2 separate regions of the Homo sapiens genome follow, and region 2 is linked to region 1. Evidence: promoter capture Hi-C in human tissues and cell types (Jung and others, 2019). All regions are on one chromosome and are shown on one strand. The core of a region is centred on a gene start or on the middle of the fragment in contact, and the rest is flanking DNA. Distances in the headings are between cores, read along the strand shown.

The links. The method cuts DNA at HindIII sites, captures the fragments that hold promoters and counts their contacts. A contact is called where the count stands out against the background at its distance.
Region 2: a fragment that was not itself captured here is called in contact with the fragment with the promoter of ZSCAN2 in region 1 in 2 of the 25 tissues and cell types used here (lymphoblastoid cells and thymus).

What each region holds. Positions count from the first base shown.
Region 1 is chr15:84,599,264-84,602,509 of GRCh38, reverse strand. It overlaps ZSCAN2 (zinc finger and SCAN domain containing 2), which reads right to left and starts at 1,501. Exons shown (of 3, transcript NM_181877.4): 1 at 1,375-1,501. It overlaps LOC105370947 (a long non-coding RNA gene), which reads left to right. Exons shown (of 4, transcript NR_186225.1): 4 at 2,707-3,076. RefSeq lists a silencer at 1,134-1,283 and an enhancer at 1,604-1,653. The HindIII fragment of the contact is 21,972 bases long and covers 1-3,246 here.
Region 2 is chr15:85,079,581-85,082,826 of GRCh38, reverse strand. The region is part of intron 5 of PDE8A (phosphodiesterase 8A); the gene reads right to left. Among named protein-coding and RNA genes, the nearest start is that of PDE8A, 99 kb to the right of the region's middle. The HindIII fragment of the contact is 5,315 bases long and covers 1-3,246 here.

The DNA.
Region 1 (3,246 bases), core at 252-2,751:
TCAAAGGAGCCTTCTGGGATGATGGAAATTTTCAATATCTTCATTTGGCAATGGCGGCACAAGAGCAAACATATGAAATTTAAGATCTGCACATTACGCTGTATGTTTTTAATATTTTAAAAATTATATTGACAAAGATTAATCATTAATGATTTAAGATAATCCTTCTGATAGGAAAATAATGGATAAACACAAAATCAGCAGGGCAGAAAAACCATAGACACAGTAAGTCCTCAATTCCCTTTAAAAATGAACTCACAGCCGGGCGCGGTGGCTCAGACCTGTAATCCTAGCACTTTGGCAGGTTGAGGCGGGCGGATCACCTGAGGTCGGAAGATCGAGACCAGCCTGACCAACACGGAGAAACCTCGTCTCTACTAAAAACAAAATTAGCCAGGCGTGGTGGCGCATGCCCGTAATCCCAGCTACTCCGGAGGCTGAGGCAGGAGAATCGCTTGAACCCGGGAGGCAGAGGATGCGGTGAGCGGAGATCAGGCCATTGCACTCCAGCCTGGGCAACAAAAGCAAAACTCCGTCTCAAAAAAAAAAAAAAAAAAAAATGAACTCACAGGAAAAAAGAACGGGACGGCACCTACAAAATATTGAAAGCAGTGGAATTGCAAACGACTTAAAATATTATAAAAGCAATACAAAATTATTTTTAGCCCAAGCGCTGTAGCTCACGCCTGTAATTCCAGCACTTTGGGAGGCCGAGGAGGGAAGATGGCTTGAGGCCGGGAGTTCATGACCAACCTGGGCAACAGAGTGAGACCCAGTCTCTACAAAAATAAAAAAATTTTTTAAAAAATCATTACTACATCATAAAGACTCAACTAACAACCCTCCCTCAATGAAAAGGGGAGAAAAGCTGACAAAAGCTTAAAAAAAAAAGGACAAAAAATAAAAGCTAGTGGGAAAACCGAAGCTCTCAACGTGTATTTACTCAAATGACTAGAAGAAATACTGGCATATGGTGTAAGAGAACTCTTCCTACTTGGGAGCCTGGGAAAAGTGTGCCAGGTCAGCTAATTTGCGGTCTGACTTGGGGCACGACACGCCCCCTCTGAACCTCAGTTTCCCCATCTGTAAAACGTGTACGCTGCGCGGGATGTCGTCGAATGCCCCTTCCCGTCCAAAGCCTGCGCTTCTCGGTAGGAGAGGCAAGGAGCTCTCCGCCAGGGAGACGCGTCCGGGACGGTTCGCTGAGCGGAGCCGGCGCGTAAATCGGGGCTGCAGGGCCCGCAGGATACGGAGCGCGACCCCGACGCCCCTCCCCCAGCAGAGCTGCCGGCAGCTGGCTCCAGGCCCACTATTCCCTCACCTCGGGCTACTGCCCGGGGTCCGCGTGGCTCCAGGCCTGCCTCTCCGGCTCACCTCTCGGGAGACCAGGTCCTGCTCTAGCGGTTGCTTCGCGTGCGAAAGCGCCCCCGGGCTCGGCCCGGCCCCTCCAGATTCACCCCGGCTCAAGCCCGTGGGGCACCGAGAACAATGGACGGGAGAGGCCCGCCCACCGCCGCGCTCATTGGCTGCCGAGAACGGCCCTGGAAATTCTGCCTTTCTGTTGGTGGAGACGGCACCCAGCCGGGCGGCAGGAGGGAGGCTGGGCCCAAGGCATTGTGGGAGATGTAGTCCGCCCGGAGACGAACCTGACCGCGGTCCCCGGAGTAGGGTTTGGGGCTGACAGCCTGGGCAGTGCCTGCGGACCAGAGGCAGGAAAATCCGCAGACTGACCGTCAGAAACCCTGTGTTGGCTAGAGCTGTAACCCGAGACAAGCCGTTTCACTTATCTAAGGCCTCTGTATATTTGTCTATAAAAAGTGAAAGTTGGATGGCCGGACTTGAAGGACCTTTTCGGCTGCGAACCTTGTGGCAAGGAGTATTGTTAGGCACCCTCGACCGGCGAGAGCGGACCCTGGGCAGGAAGGGAATCCATGGGGGAACAAATCCTCATCGCCCAAGCCTGGCGCCTTTCCCCCAGTTTGCAGCTGTACACATGCACCCGGTCTTCGCACACCCCTTTGTTTTCGCACGTGGTATTCCTGTGTTTGGAGGAACGCCCTGCCCCGCCTCCTCTGCCGCGGAACTCCCATTCTTCCAGCTTCTCCTGGGTGGAGCCTGCCCTGTCATCACCACCTCCCCAGGCAGAGACACCGCCCCTAGTACACGTGTTGGACGTCCCCATTTTATTTTTTAAATATATATATGTATGTATTTGTATATATATATATATATTTATTTATACACACACACTCACAGACAGGATCTACATTTCATAGAGACAGGGTTTCCATATGTTGCCCAGGCTGACCTCGAACCCCTGGGCTCAAGCGATCCTTCCTCCTCAGCCTCCCAAAGTGCTGGAATTACAGGTGTGAGCCACCGCACCTGGCTGACGTCTCCATTTTAGTACTGATCACCGGGTTGCTTACTTGTCAATCTCAGTATGGGGGAAGGGAGGGTGCCCGGGTGTGGGAGGTTGGCCTCCATCTTTGTGTTTTACGGCTGGCGCTGTTGAAGAAACGGCTGCCCCAACCCTGCTTGAAAACAGGTGAGAAACTACCTGGAAACTCAAGCGGAAAATCTAAAAATGGAGAGAGACACCCTTAATGGTCTGTGATAGAATAGTTATGTATGTTTGCACTGAGCAATTACTGGAGGCACCTGCAATGAAATGACTGCTTTTTTTTTTCCTCCTCTGTCGCCCAGGCTGGAGTGCAGTGACACGATCTCGGATCAAGTGATTCTCCTGCCTCAGCCTCCCAAGTAGCTGGGATTACCGGCGTGCGCCACCACACCTGGCTAATTTTGCGTGTTTTTAGTAGAGACAGAGATTTCACCATGTTGATCAGGCTGGTCTTGAATTCCTGACCTCAGGTGATCCAGCCGTCTTGGCCTCCCAAAGTGCTGAGATTACAGGCATGAGCCACGTGCCCGGTCCTTTTCCCATTTTTAAATTGGATTTATTTGTAAGAGCTCTTTGTATATTAAGAAAATTATCCCTTTGTCACAGCAGTTGCTACTCTTTCTCAGTTTGCTGTTTGTTTTCTGCTGGTTTATTAAATATAGAAATTTGAAATTTTTTTGCAGTCAAATTTGTTAATCTTATCTTTTTATAGCCTGTGAGTTTTGTGTTAGAAAGTCCTCTGCACCACTCCAAAGATTATGTGAAATTCACCTGTTTTTCACTAATTAACCTCTTGAATCCAATTACAGAGATGCAAAGTGAAGTTCAGCTAGTGATTCTTA
Region 2 (3,246 bases), core at 257-2,756, 480 kb before region 1:
AGCAGCCACTGTGTTCTGTCATATAGTTCTATTCAAATGTAAAAATATTTGTGAACATTACTCCCCCATTTCTAAAGAGCTCCTTGCTTTTTACCTGCACAATAAGTGGACAATACTCTACCTGGCTGAAGAGGAAGCTGATGCCTAAGAGGCAGAGCCTCTGCATATCACTATCTATAAGCCCCAGCCAGACCAATCTGGGACAGGGGTCCCCTTAAAGAGTTCCTTCTACTACCACGGTGAACGCAAATGACCCGTCTGAACTGTGATCAGGGTCTTGTCTGGGTGTCAAGCAACCTAAAAATCTAGCCCTTGGTTCGTGCCTTAAAAGCTGTATGATTGTATATGAGGCACCTAACATTCCTGAGCCTGTTTCCTCAACTGTAAAGCAAGAAAAATAATACTGTTCCTACCCAATGAAGGTCACCGAGAATAAAAAGACATGATGGGAGAAAGCATTTTAAGTACAAACTGCTGCATAAATGTAAAGAACAGCTACTGTCACCCCCACAGGGGAAGGCAAGACCTGTTGACCAGGAGCATGATAAACCTTATACCTATAGGCCAAAACAGAGCCCCTTTCTTACCCAGAGGTCTGACAGAGGTGACATGCCTGCCAGCTCCCACCGACTGAGAAGGGAGGAGTATGCTAGACCTGCTGTCCACACCTCCATCAGCCAAGACCCCATGGGAACACCCAAAAACACTGGACAGGAACCCACTTCTGATTGGGCAGGGACAGGGAAAAGAGATTTCTTGACATAGTGCTTGTGCCACTCCAGGAGACATGGAATCGGGGCCTTGAGATAGACAGGGGTCCTCAGTTCCTCCGCAGGTAAGATTCTGGGATGTGAGGGCTGTGGAGGGGATGTGAGGGCTGTGGAGGGAATGTGTATTTATCCATTTCCACAAATGGATTCCCATGCATGCAATCAGACTTTTTAATTGGTCTGAATGTTATGTATCCACCAAACTTTTTTACCCCAAAGGCAGAAATCAAGGTAAAAAAAACTAGCATGTGACCAAATGTACAGCATCTTGCTCCTGTTTGCCCCCTCCCTCAAAACTTTTGTTTTGCTATGCGTGTTTAAACACTGTTCTCTTTATCTAAACATCTCATCTTTCCTGCCCCTTGCCAACTTTTGTTTCTGTCCCAAGGATCCCACAGGGCATGGAGGGTGAAGAATCAGGTCCAGGGATCCTCAGAAAGCAAGCTTATTCCCTCTGCTTAAACAGCGGTTAGTCTCCTCTCCCTTAACCTTCTTCCACGAAAGGGGCTGGGACTACAAATCCTAGACTTCTAAGCTAACTTAACCTCACTTTCTCCAAAGCATATCACACCCACGGCTAGGACCTGAGCCCATCTTTGCTAGGCCTCTCCCAGTGGTTCTCAACTCTCAGCTGCATATTAGAATTATCTGCAATTTGAAAAAACACCAGCATGCAGGCCCCTCCCCAGACCAACTGAAACAGACTCCCTAGGGATGTTATTCAGGTGATTCTAATGTGCACCCAGCAGTGAGTCTACCGACTCAATGGCCAAATCCAATTGAGGAAGCTAGCAGGTCCTCCACCTACTTTTCAATCCTGAAACATGGCTAAAACACAAAATAGCTCATGGCCTTTCCTATGCCCCATCCCCTGTACCAGAGATATCATTATGGTGTTAGCTTTCAGATTCAAGCCTTGGCACCACCGCCTACAGCCATGACTGGGAGAATCCCCTTCCTCCAGGTCTAACTCTTCTTCTCAGTAACCTGAGCATCCTTTTGTCACACAAAAGTAAGAGACTCTGGATGAGATTAGTTAGCACTAATTAGTTAGTGGTCTCTGAGGACTGGTTGACCGCATGAATTCCTCACCTACAAAATGGAGAGCCTGCCACTACCTCTACATTTCCTAAGTCAGGTGCTTCTAAAGTGACTACTGTAAAGCTTTTTGGGCTTTTTGCATGGACGTGTCCTCACAGGGGCGTGCACCTAAAAGTGGTTCCATTGAAGTCTTCAGGGGGTTCCTTGATTTTGATTAAGGTGTGCAGGCTTGAGGCAGCAAGAGTGTGTGTGTCAGTTACTTTTCAAGTTAGCTCCATGATAACACAGTAATACTAAGAAAATATAAGGACCATGATTTACTTGACCTTCTACCAGGATGCTCTTTCTGGTCCACAGAACTATGCTGATAGACTTCTTGGGCAGAATTTCAAACACGGCAGTCACCAGGCACAAATTTCCAACAGTGCATCTATGTACTTTCAAAGAGACCTCAAACAAACACAAGCCTTAATGACCTCATGCGGCTGTAGGTAAGCAAATAACCCAAGGCAGAGGGAATAATCTATCCCCTAAGTTTCACTAGAAAGTGGAAGCTTCTAAGGTTCTTGTTAAAAGGAATAGCCAGTTTTGCGGCCTTAGTTGCAAAAGCAAGCAGCTTAGGGAGGGATGACATAAAGATCCATAGGGGACTTCTGACTTCCAACCTGGGACGCCTTACTGCTGGCTAAGTAAACTGTTCTCATACAATTTAACAGGAATTACTAGAGGTCAGGGAATGGAGGTAGGTGCTGATGTGTATGTATGTTGTGGGGGTTGTCCAAAAAGGGGGAAACACAAGAAAGCCACAGCTATATAATCAATAACCTAATGTGTGCTTTTTATATAAAACTGTATTTACATATAAACTAAAATCTTAAATTCCACCTCATCTGATATTAATATCAATATCAATATCTGTGTTCTTTTTGTCTGCATTTACTTGCTACCTCTATGTTCTTTTACTTAAGCTCCTTTTATCATGTTAAGTGTCTTGTAACTGTTATAGAATTGTACTTTTTCAACCCAATCTAACAGCCTATCTTTTAAAGGAAGAATTCAGCCCATTCATATACATTTGCTTTTATTCTTTCTTTTTTTTTTTGAGATGGAGTCTTGCTCCCACTGTGCAGGCTGGAGTGCAGTGGTGCAATCTCAGCTCACTGCAACCTCCACCTCCTGGGTTCAAGGGATTCTCCTTCTTCAGCCTCCTGAGTAGCTGGGATTACAGGTGTGCGCCACCATGCCCGGGTAATTTTTGGATTTTTAGTAGAGACGGGGTTTCGCCATGCTGGCCAGGCTGGTCTGGAACTCTTGACCTCAGGTGATCCACCTGCCTCAGCCTCCCAAAGTGTTGGGATTACAGGCGTGAGCCACCGTGCCCAGCCTGCTTCTATTCTTTCTATCTGACTTTGTGTTTCTCACTGATTTTACACTG